Regions from separate parts of the Homo sapiens genome. Here all the other regions are linked to region 1. The links are contacts of gene promoters, found by promoter capture Hi-C in blood cells and fetal thymus (Javierre and others, 2016). All regions are on one chromosome and are shown on one strand. Each heading gives the region's core, a stretch centred on a gene start or on the middle of the fragment in contact. The rest is flanking DNA. Distances are from core to core; before and after follow the strand shown. Region 1 holds the start of DHRS12 (dehydrogenase/reductase 12). Region 2 overlaps SETDB2-PHF11 (SETDB2-PHF11 readthrough). Region 3 overlaps CAB39L (calcium binding protein 39 like). Region 4 overlaps KPNA3 (karyopherin subunit alpha 3).

Region 1 (2,982 bases), core at 154-2,653:
CCACAACAGCAGGAAAACCCATCTAACTTTGCCAACTGCCTTCCCCTCCCCTCCCTTCCCCCACCAATCTGTGGTGGATTGGGCCCCTTGGCCTCACTTCTACCTTCCCTCAAGGTGGGGAAATCAGAGCGAAAGAGTCCTGGGAGAAATTTTTACAGTCTGCTTTCCTTGGGGCCCACCCCTGGTTGGAAACTGACTTAAGCTTTCATGCTGTGTAATGTGGAAAGATCCAGCAATTAATGGTCATTGCCAGAGGACACCCCTTTGAAAGAAAGAGGCTGCCACTGTATTCCCCTAAAAACTGTGGGACAGGGCTCACGACTACACTCCCCACCATTCTCTGCAGCAGGGGCTCCTGAGACAGAGCTGAACCTTCTCCAAAACGATGTGGGGTGAAGAGCAGGGAGTTGCAACTCCTACCTCCCCTAGGAGTGCTGGCCAGGTTGCCGTGGGAACTGATAAAGCCCCAGTGCAGGGAGAAGCCTCTCAGAGGTGAGAATCACCTGGGGCATTTGGATGAAATGCCAGTCCAGGCCCCTGTGCAGATCCACTAAATCAGAATCTGTAGGGATGGGGCCTGAAAACTGGGTACTTTTAATTCTCGCCCAGTGATTCTGATGTGCAGACAGGGTTGAGAACCAGCGGTTAGCCTAATCAATTCTAAGAGAAAACCTCCATCTCTCCTCCGTCACAGGAACCTGTCACCTCTTAAAACCACAATGAGGTGGAGAGCCAACTAGGGCACACTGAGCGTGGTCACGGGGCGACGAAACCACCACGCACCGTTCCCCAGAAGCACACACTGGCTGGAAAGTTCCAGCTGGAGCCAAAGGTCGCAGTCCAGGTGCTGCATCTTTTTAAAGGAAACACACCCAAAGGCACTAGGACAGAGCCTTAGCTAGCGATTTAGATCCAGCCCTATCTGACGCCGCCAGCAGCACCACGAAGACACTTCCACGAGCACACCCAGCGGGGCGCCGAGGTGCCGCCCAAGAGGCTCCTTGGCGCCGGGGCCGCCTGACGTCAGTGGGACGGCCCTGGGCTTGGGCGCGCCACAGCCCCGCCCCTCGGGCGCCAGTCTCGGTCGCGGGCATTGAGCGGCTGGAGTCTGGCGACTGCCCCACGCCCAGCCGTGGGTCGCTAGACGGCGGGCGCACCCGTCGTTCTGGACACGCTTAGTCGGCCCAGCGAGAGGGCGAAGGAGCCGCGGGCGCGTCCCCGCCAACCCTGCTCGCCCGCGCCGAGGCGGGCCACGTGACAGCCCGGGGCCCCGCGCCCCGCCGCGCCGCCTTACTTGGTGTACTCGCGCAGCCCCTTGGCGAACCACACGACGCTGCGGTACAGGGACATGCCGGGAGCGCCCCACGCCTAGCCCCACCGCGCTCCCGGCGCGGCCTCCGCCCTGGTCCCGCCCCCCGGGAGTCGCCCGCCCTGACATCATCCCGGTTATGTAAGAGCCGCGGCTTCCGGTTCCTTGCTCCACCGGTAAGGCAAGGGGTCTCGGGGCCGGCCGGTCGACTCCGCCCCAGCCTCAGAGGGTGGAGTGAGGGCGGACCGGCCCTGGTGGGGGCCGCAGTCGAGGTCCGCAGTCTCCTCGGGGTCGAAATCGGGCATCAGCGCCGTTTAGAGAACACCGTCCTGCTGGGCATGGCCGGGATGCGAAGATGGCCCTGCAACGCACCTCCTAGAATTTGGTTACCTAGAAAACCATGTGGAATAAAACGACGAGGCTTATGATATTTAAAAGACTTCTGCATCGAATTGGTGTTATCATAAGGGTTATTTTAATAACTGGCATTCTCTAAGTTTCTACACGTGTTGGGGGATGCAGTGCCGTGCCACATTTCCCGTCTCCAGCAAGCGCAGTCAGATTGGCGACATCGCAGGCAAGAGGCAGGGCTGGGGCTCCCACCCGAGAAGTAATTGTCTCCAAAGTTGGACTTTTGCCACTGGTTCTGCGACTTCATGCAATGCCAGGGAGAGCCCCTTGATTTCCCCCAAATCCTCATCAGCCTCTTTCCACCCAAGCCCAGATGAACAGTGTGAGTAAAAAAGAGTGTGGTTGCTGCGTGAACCCAGATCTCAGACTAGTCATCCAGCCCCATTATGTAGGACTCAGACACCCCTGTCCACATCTAACCTCCAGCCCTAACGCCACATTAGAAATGGGGGTCTTACTGCTGCTGTCACTCCTAGTCACCCTGTTAAATTCTATACCGGTTTACCCAAGTCGCCCAGAGACTGGGCCCCACTTACATAAGCTGAAGAGACCAGCTGCTTTAATAGCCTCATTACCTAGGATATAGGATCACTGTCCAACCTCACTCCACAGTGGGCAAGTTTTTACTTCAGAATAACTTTTGAAATAAATTTCCCCGGAACAGCTCGCCCCTCTCAACAGGACTCTGAGGCTCCACTACGTTGCTGTTATTCCTGACAGAGTGATGAAAGGAAATTTAAACAAGTGGCATTTTGTAAAACCACCCCAGCCTGTGTGACTTTCAATGCCTGTCCGATTTGGCTGGGAAAATATTTTAGATCCCCAGGGCTACATACTGTTTTTTATACCCTCCTCTTTGTGTCAGTGATGGAAAAGGTGTCAATCTGCTCTGAATCTCTCTGAACACCTCAGGAAATAGGCTTTTGGCTCGCAGAGAGGGGATGAGAAATAGTTTTGAACCACCAAGTCTCTTGGAGGGTGTCAGCAGCCCCTTGAAGTAAAAGTGTGGCTGCAAACCCAGCTCTCTGCATTAGCCAGGTGAACCTGAGCATGCTGCATACACCCTCAGTCTTGGTTTCTTAATATGTAAAATGGGAATGAATATGCGCACCTCGTGGGGTGGTTGTGATTAAAGGCATTCATTATAAAGAGCTTAGTTTCATACAAAGTGATCAGAAGTGTTGGTTTCCCTCCTTAAGTTTTCTTCTCATTCCTTTTTCCCCTGCGCTTACAGCCATGCAGTGTACATTCAAGAAATTTCC
Region 2 (2,786 bases), core at 270-2,769, 2.3 Mb before region 1:
TTTACAAGTTTTAATGTCTGTTTTGAGTGTCCTTTAATAAGAACACAGTATTCTATCAAAGTAGATTTTGGGTCTGAGGTAATTAGAATATTGGGATGTTTTTCCCCCAGTTTCATCCTAGGGCAGGGGACTTTGTGTTGTCAAATATTAACATATATTCTAAAACATTGAAAATTTTAAGTGTAGCATTGTTCAATGGAATAAAACAGAAGCACAGGAGGAACAGATCCAACTATATGAAAAGGAGATTTTAAATTAGTGGCTAACCATTATGAATATAAGTTAGATTCCCATCTCATACATTACAAAACAATTTATTCTATGTTCATGAATAGTTTAATTCTTTTTTTGTTTCATTTTGTTTTGTTTTTTTGAGGAGTTTCGCCCTTGTCGCCCAGGCTAGCATGCAGTGGTGCAATCTCAGCTCACTGCAACCTCCTCCTCCCAGGTTCAAGTGATTCTCTTGCCTCAGCCTCCCGAGTAGCTGGGATTATAGGTGTCCGCCACCATGCCCGGCTAATTTTTGTAATTTTAGTAGAGACAGGGTTTCACCATGTTGGTCAGGCTGGTCTCGAACTCCTGACCTCAGGTGATCCACCCGCCTCGGCCTCCCAAAGTGCTGGGATTACAGGTGTGAGCCACCGCGCCCGGCCAATATTTTAATTCTAAAATTAAATTAAGGCAGGACATGGTGCCTCATGCCTGTAATCCCAGCACTTTGGGAGGCTCAGGAGGGAGGATCACTTGAGCCTAGGAGTTCGAAACCATCCTGGACAACATGGCAAGATCCCTCCTCTACACAAAAATTTAAAAATTAGCTAGATGTGGTTGCATGCACCTGTAATCCCAGCTACTTTGGAGGCTGAGGTGAGAGGATCACTTGAGCTGGGGAGGTTGAGGCTGCAGTGAGCCATGATCATGCCACTGCACTCCAAGCTTGGGTGACAGGGCAAGACCCTGTCTCAAAATAAATAAATTGATTAATTAAAATAAATTAAAATTCTAGAAGAAAACAGAGGTAAGTGTTTTCTATGTCCATCTCACCCAAGAGCAGAAATCATAAAATAAATGATTGTTGTAATTTCATCAAGTAAAACATTTAAATATTCTGTATATCAAAGAATATTATAAACAAAGTTAAAAGACCACATATATGACTAACAAAGGGTTAATACCCTGACTGTTATAAACCAATAAGAAAATAATAATTCAACAGAAAAATGGGCTAAGGACATGAGTGCCTTAGAGAAGAAATGGGATTGTGACCTTACTGCATGTTACATTCGTAAGTCCAGATTATGATCCACTTCTCTCTGCATTTCGTGTTCTTTCCTTTGACTTCATCATCTAACCTTCTGTCCTAACTGTACCTTGATAATACGTTTATTTGTTTGTTTGTTTTGAGACGGAGTTTCACTCTTGTTGCCCAGGCCACAGTGCAGTGGCACATTCTTGGCTCACTGCAACCTCTGCCTCCCAGGTCCAAGGGATTCTCCTGCCTCAGCCTCCCGAGTAGCTGGGATAACAGGCATGCACCACCACGCCTAGCTAATTTTTTTTTTTAATGTAGTAGAGATGGGGTTTCACCATGTTAGCCAGGATGGTCTCGATCTCCTGATCTTGTGATCCACCCACCTCGGCCTCCCAAAGTGCAGGGATTACAGGCGTGAGCACCGTGCCCGACCAAGATTGACCTTCTTAAACAACTTTGTCATCATGTGCTTCTCCTGCTCAGACATCCTCCTTGGCAGCCTTTCAACACGTTTCTCAAATCCTTTCCCAGCTTCCTGTGCAGCCTTTCCTCCTCAGCCTGGCTGCCTTACTGTCTCAGCTCCGATCTCTGGGCCTTTTCCCATATGGCTGCTTCCCTCTACAGTGTTCCTCCTAGCCCATACCCCAACCCACCCCACCTTTCCCTCCTCTCCAGGTTGTACCAGTTCCAGGCCCCTGCCCTTGACAATACTCCTTCCCACGAGGAGCACTTCCTCGGCTACCTCCTTAGCGTGTATTGGAATTCCCACTCACTTGGCAGTTGCACTTTGTGACACTTAATTCTGCCATTTTATTTTCCTAACTGCTATTTAGTCTCCCTGTTTATTTCGTAAGCTTCTTGCAGACACCAGTTCTATCTCACCACATTTCTTTACGTCCTCTGCTCTACTATTCACTAGAGGAGCCCCTCACCACAGATAGCTGTTGAGCACGTACAATGTGACTGGTCCTATTGAGACATGCTTTAAGCACAGAATACACACTGGACTTCAAAGACTCTGTACAAAAGAATGAATAACTTTTATATTGACTAAATGTTGAAAGGATGTAAGTTCTTTGACATATTTGGTTGCATAAAGCACATTATTAGCTTCACCTGTTTCTTTTTTGGGTTTTTTGTTTGTTTGTTTGTGTCGTTTTTGAGACAGAGCCTCATTCTGTTGCCCAGGCTGGAGTGCAGTGGCACAATTTCAGCTCACTGCAGCCTCTGCCTCCTGGGTGCAAGCAATTCTCGTGCCTCAGCCTCCCAAGTAGCTGGAATTACAGGTGTGTGCCACCATACTGGGCTAATTTTTTTGTATTTTTAGTAGTGACATGTTGGCCAAGCTGGTCTTGAACTCCTGACCTCAGGTGATCCACCCACCTCAGCCTCCCGAAGTTCTGGGATTATAGGCGTGAGCCACTAGGCCCAGCCTCCTTTTTGATTTTTTTAATGAGGCTCCTAGAAAGTTTTCAGTGATATCTGTGGCTCACATTTGTGTCTTGTTATATGTTTCTTGTTGGACAGCATCGGT
Region 3 (2,731 bases), core at 232-2,731, 2.4 Mb before region 1:
TTACAGTATGCCTTTCAACATATGTTACATTTAAACCTACTTTAATGTTAAGCGTTCTTGAATTACAGTCCTAATAGTTGTTCTGGTCCATTGCTTTGGCTTGCTTTGTTTTACTGTAGTAAAATAAGGAACATAAAATTTACTGTTTTAAAGTATTCAATAAGTGGCATTAAGTATATTCAGTGTTACATAAACATCACCACTATCCTTGGGCTTACATTTGGGGAACTCCATTTATATTTATTCTGGCTCTCTTTGCCTGTCTTGTCACCTCTTGACTCCTTTTTAAAAATCTTTTTATTTTCTTCATTTTTCCATTTTTCTTATCGTACTTTCTGTGATGTATATTCACTCTTGGTTTCTAATGCAATCATCACTTTAAACTGTCTTTTTCTTAATCTTTTATTGAGTTTTGTCTGCTCTCATTGCACCTCCTTCTATGGTCTAGCCATCTCATTTCTTTTTTTCCCCTGAAAACATAGAAAGAGGTGAATTTTATTTACTTTTTTATAATTTCAAGTTCTCTTTTAGATTTGGGGGTACATGTGCAGATTTGTTACATGGGTATACTGTGTAACGCTGAAGTCTGGAGTATGACAGATCCTGTCATCCAGGTACTGGGCATTATACTCAACAGTTAGTTTTTCAACACTTATTGCATTCCTTCCCTGCATAGTATTCCACGGTTCATATGTAACCAATCTATCCCTGATGGACACATAGGTTGATTCCACATCTTTGCTATTGTGACTAGCACTATGATGAACATATGAGTGCATGTATCTTTTTGGTAGAACAATTTCTTTTGGATATACACCCAATAATGGGATTGCTGGTCAAATGGTAGTTCTGAGTTTTTTGAGAAACCTTCAAACTGATTTCCACAGTGGCTGAACTAATTTACACTCCCACCAACCGTGTGTAAGTGTTCCCTTTACTCTGCAGCCTTGCCCACATCTGTTGTTTTTTGACTTTTTAGTAAGAGCCATTCTGACTGGCGTGAGATGATGTCTCATTATGGTTTTGATTTGCATTTCTCTGATGATTAGTGATGTGGAACATTTTTTCATCTGTTTATTGGCCACTTGTTCTTTTGAGAAGTGTCTGTTGATGTCTTTTGACCACTTTTTAATGGGTTTTTTTTTTTTTTTTTTTTGCTTGTTGAATTAACTTCCTTATAGATTCTGGATATTAGACCTTTGTCAGATGCATAGTTTGCAAATATTTTCTCCTATTCTGCAGGTTATCTGTTTGCTCTGTTAATAGTTTCTCTTACTGTGCAGAAGCTCTTTAGTTTAATTAGGTCCTACTTGTCAACTTTTGTTTTTGTTGCAATTGCTTTTGAAGACTTAGTCATAAATTCTTTCCCAAGGCTGATGTCCAGAATGTTTCCTAGATTTTTTCCTAGGATTCTTACTGTTTGAGTTCTTACATTTAAATCTTTAATCCATCTTGAATTGATTTTTGTATGTGGTGTAAGGTAGAAGTCCAGTTTTGTATGTGGTGTAAGGTAGAAGCCCAGTCTTATACACATGGCTAGCCAGTTATCCCAGCACCATTTATTGAATAGGAAGTTCTTTCTCCATTGCTTCCTTTTGTCAATTTTGTTGACCAGATGGCTGTGGGTGTACAGCTTAATTTCTGGGCTCTCTATTCTGCTCCATTGGCCTATATGTCTGTTTTTGTACCAGTACCATGCTTTTTTGGTTACTGTAGCCTCAAAGTATAATTTGAAACAAGCTACACATTCAGTAGCACTGAATGTGTAGCTTGTTTTGGGCAGTATGGCGATTCTAATGATATTGATTCTTCCAATCCATGAGCATGGAGTGTTTTTCCATTTGTTTGTGTCATCAATGATTTCTTTCAGCAGTGTCTTGTAGTTCTTGTAGAGATCTTTCACTTCCTTGGTTAGAGGTATTCCTAGGCAGTGTGTGTGTGTGTGTGTGTGTGTGTGTGTGTGTGTGTGTGTGTATGGCTATCGTAAACAGGACTGCATTCTTGATTTGGCTCTCTGCTCCAACATTATTGGTATAGAAACGCTACTGATTTTTGTACAGAGTTTGTATCCTGAAACTTACTGAAGTTATCAGTTCCAAGAGCCTTTGGTGGAGTCTTTAGGGTTTTCTAGGTATACAATCAGATCATCAGCCAAGAGAGATAGTCTGACTTCTTTTCCTATGTGGATGCCTTTTGTTTCTCTTGCCTGATTGCTCTGGCTAGAACTTCCTACGTATCTCATGTCTGAGCTCTTATTTCTGAATTTATGTGGTTCTTTCAAAGATTTCATCTTTTCCTTAAATTCTCTTAGCTTACTCTGAAATATTTAGATTGTCATTTTCATCTGCTTTGTGGCCACATTTTTGGGGTATGTTTTCATAATCTCGTGCAATGTTTTATGGCTTATTTTGATGATTTTCTTATAATGATTTAGTGTATATATATATATATATATATATTCCCTTTTCCCATATATTTATATAACTATATACTAAAAGGAGGTTCCCGGCTAGGTACAGTGGCTTATGCCTATAATGCTAGCACTTCGGGAAGCCAAAGCAGGAGGATCACTGGAGTCCAGGAGTTTGAGACCAGCCTGGGCAACATAGCAAGATGCCATCTCTCCAAAAAATTAGCCAGGCATGGTGGCACATATCTATAGTCCCAGCTACTCTTGAGGCTGAGGAGGGAGGTTCACTTGAGCCTGGGGGGTCAAGGCTGCAGTAAGCTG
Region 4 (2,860 bases), core at 96-2,595, 2.0 Mb before region 1:
ATGTGATACTAAAAATCACATATGAACCAATATGAACTTTGCCTTAACATTTTTTTATTAACCATTCAAGTATGAGCGAGTTCATGTTACAGAAATACATTATAGGAGAACAGGCTGTTCAAGGAGGGCTAGGCAACAGTATCAATGCCATGGAGTCAACACCAAAAGAAAATTAATGTCTTAGAATAATACTGAACCTTTCATTCCCAAATGTAGACTTTTTTCAGGTATATCATCTAGTCTCTCTTCTCATTAAGTTTCATGTTTCAAGTTACATCCAAGGTATCTATTCTCACTGAGCTTCTCAACAGAGCCCAAATACTTTAATAGCTATACAAACACAGAATTTGTTGTACATCACAGCAATTTATCCCAAATAGGTGAAGGAAAATTCACCTAGGAAAACACTAGAGAGGAGGAAAAGAATAGGGACTGATAGTACCAAGTATACTGTAAGTCAGGAAAGGCTCATGGAGAACTTTTAAAGTTTTTTTTTGTTTTTGGTTTTTAACTAGAATGACATGGTGTGGCAGAATTGTAATCTTGGTGTTCCAGAGATATATGAAGGAGTCTCACTGAAGAGATAGGTTGCCAGAGTGAACCCCAACTCAACAGATAGTCAAAAGAAGGCACACAGAACAGCATATACAAAGGCATGAAGAAGAAACTACTGGTTACTCAAGCATCTCCAGTACTTTATCACAGCTGGCACAAAGGAGATATAAGGAAAAGTGCAAGGTGAGGTAAAAAAGGTAAGGTCTTACAACTATGTGTGGCATGCTAAGGACTTTTATCCTGAAGTCAATGGGAAGGATCATAAACAGGAAAGTAACACAGAAAGATATGAGAAAGATCAATCCACAAGATACACTGGGGAGAGAAGATACTGAACACAGAAGAGCTAGGTACACTATTATACTTGTTCAGGCAACAAAGATAAGGGTCTAAACTAGGGGCAGAGGAAGTAAGGTTGGTAACAGGTACAAACATGAGGGTTCTTCAGATAACTAATACAAAGAAGGGTGAAGGAGGGGAAGAGAAGGGAGTCAAGGATAGAATCTTAAACTTGGACAATCAGATAGTGCCACTTAGCACTGGAGGTTCCAGAGACAGAAGCAAGTCTGGTAGAGCTAACTGAATTTTGCAGGTGAGAAAATATATATTAGCCCTGGTATCAGAAACTAAAGCATAAAGCTTAAGTGTTAAGCCCAAAGATACGGATTATCATTTTTTGGTAAAACCAACCAACTGGCTCCTTGCTGATAAGAAGGAAACTTTGCAAGAGTAAAAAGATAAAAAGGCAAATAAATCTAATAGTAAAGTTCATCAAAAATTTGCAAGGTTTTAAAGTATAGAAATAGCAATTTCTGTGATATAGTCGATATTTCTTCAATATTTTCCCCATTCACTAACTTTCAGGCGTGGTTTGTACATGTCAAGTCTTAGACTCCCTTCGGTGGAGTACAGCACAGTAAGCAAGAGTTCTAGCTTTAGCATCAAGCTTTATTTGTTTGTTTTTGAGACAGAGTTTCACTCTGTCGCCCAGACTTGAGTGCAGTGGCATGACCACAGCTCATTGTAACCTCTGCCTCCCCGGTTCAAGTGATTCTCTCGCCTCAGCCTCCCTTGTAGCTGGGATTACAGGCATGAGCCACCAGGACCGGCTAATTTTTGTATTTTTTTTTTTTTTTTGAGACGGAGTTTCGCTCTGTCGCCCAGGCTGGAGTGCAGTGGTGCGATCTTGACTCACTGCAAGCTCCGCCTCCCGGGTTCACGCCATTCTCCTGCCTCAGCCTCCCGTGTAGCTGGGACTACAGGCACGCGCCACCATGCCCGGCTAATTTTTGTATTTTTAGTAGAGACGGGGTTTCACCATGTTGGCCAGGCTGGTCTCGAACTCCTGACCTCGGGTGATCCACCTGCCTCGGCCTCCCAAAGTGCTGGGATTACAGGCGTTAGCCATTGCGCCCAGCCGCTTAGCATAAAGCTTTGATATATTGTAAGTCCAGGCTTTGCCACTTAACACCCGATGGAAGACTTAAGGCCACTTACTTAAGGGTTGTAGGCCTCAAGTTGCCTCAGCAGTAAATGGGGATAATAATAGTACTTACTTGATATAGGACTGTTGTGAAGATTAAATAGATAATCTATATAAAGTACTTAGCACTGATATACTGTAAACAATAAATGTTAAGGTTTTTAAAATAATTAATTACTGTTACTAATGAAAATGTCACACCCTTGAGGTATACAGCAGCAAGAAAATGAGTTGACCTGGATTGCAGTTACCTGAGCATTTGTTTTGTAATTATTCATTAAACAGAACATTTCTGTTTTGCACACTTTTCTATAAGTTATCTTTGAAAACAGGAAAAGTTTTTAAGAATCAATGCCTTACATGAAAAGGTCTAGCATTAAAATGCACATTCCAGGACCGGGCATGGTGACTCATGCCCCTAATCCCAACACTTTTAGAGGCCAAGGCAGGAGGATAACTTGAGCTAGCAGTTTGAAACCAGCCTGGGCAACATGGCAAAACCCCGTCTCTACAAAAAACACAAAAATTAGCCAGGTGTGGTGGCATGTGCCTGTAGTCCCAGCTACTCAAGAGGCTGAGATGGAAGGACGGCTTGAGCCTGGGAGGAGGCGAAGGTTATAGTGAGCCGAGATTGGGCCACTGCACTCCACCCTTGGCGACAGAGCCAGACCCTCTTTTTTTTTTTTTTTTTTTTTAAAAAAAAAAAGCACATTCCAGAACAAATAAAAGGAAATGTTTCCCTTTCAATATGTACTTCCTAGTTTTTGCTACAAAATGCATCCCCTACCCAAGCTCCAAATTTCTATCAGTGATGATAATTAC

What was found. The method cuts DNA at HindIII sites, captures the fragments that hold promoters and counts their contacts. A CHiCAGO score of 5 or more calls a contact.
Region 2: a fragment that was not itself captured here is called in contact with the fragment with the promoter of DHRS12 in region 1 in 1 of 17 cell types (activated CD4 T cells); the score reaches 5.4 in activated CD4 T cells.
Region 3: a fragment that was not itself captured here is called in contact with the fragment with the promoter of DHRS12 in region 1 in 1 of 17 cell types (fetal thymus); the score reaches 5.4 in fetal thymus.
Region 4: a fragment that was not itself captured here is called in contact with the fragment with the promoter of DHRS12 in region 1 in 1 of 17 cell types (fetal thymus); the score reaches 6.0 in fetal thymus.

What each region holds. Positions count from the first base shown.
Region 1 is chr13:51,802,760-51,805,741 of GRCh38, forward strand. It overlaps DHRS12 (dehydrogenase/reductase 12), which reads right to left and starts at 1,404. Exons shown (of 9, transcript NM_001377533.1): 1 at 1,295-1,404. It overlaps LOC107984561 (a long non-coding RNA gene), which reads left to right and starts at 1,077. Exons shown (of 2, transcript XR_007063805.1): 1 at 1,077-2,042. RefSeq lists a silencer at 965-1,604 and an enhancer at 2,155-2,284. The HindIII fragment of the contact is 7,862 bases long and covers 201-2,982 here.
Region 2 is chr13:49,501,338-49,504,123 of GRCh38, forward strand. The region is part of intron 12 of SETDB2-PHF11 (SETDB2-PHF11 readthrough); the gene reads left to right. All of the region lies in intron 1 of PHF11 (PHD finger protein 11), which reads left to right. Among named protein-coding and RNA genes, the nearest start is that of PHF11, 6.8 kb to the left of the region's middle. The HindIII fragment of the contact is 1,170 bases long and covers 935-2,104 here.
Region 3 is chr13:49,438,786-49,441,516 of GRCh38, forward strand. All of the region lies in intron 1 of CAB39L (calcium binding protein 39 like), which reads right to left. Among named protein-coding and RNA genes, the nearest start is that of CAB39L, 3.9 kb to the right of the region's middle. The HindIII fragment of the contact is 4,167 bases long and covers 1-2,731 here.
Region 4 is chr13:49,786,006-49,788,865 of GRCh38, forward strand. All of the region lies in intron 1 of KPNA3 (karyopherin subunit alpha 3), which reads right to left. Among named protein-coding and RNA genes, the nearest start is that of KPNA3, 5.2 kb to the right of the region's middle. The HindIII fragment of the contact is 307 bases long and covers 1,193-1,499 here.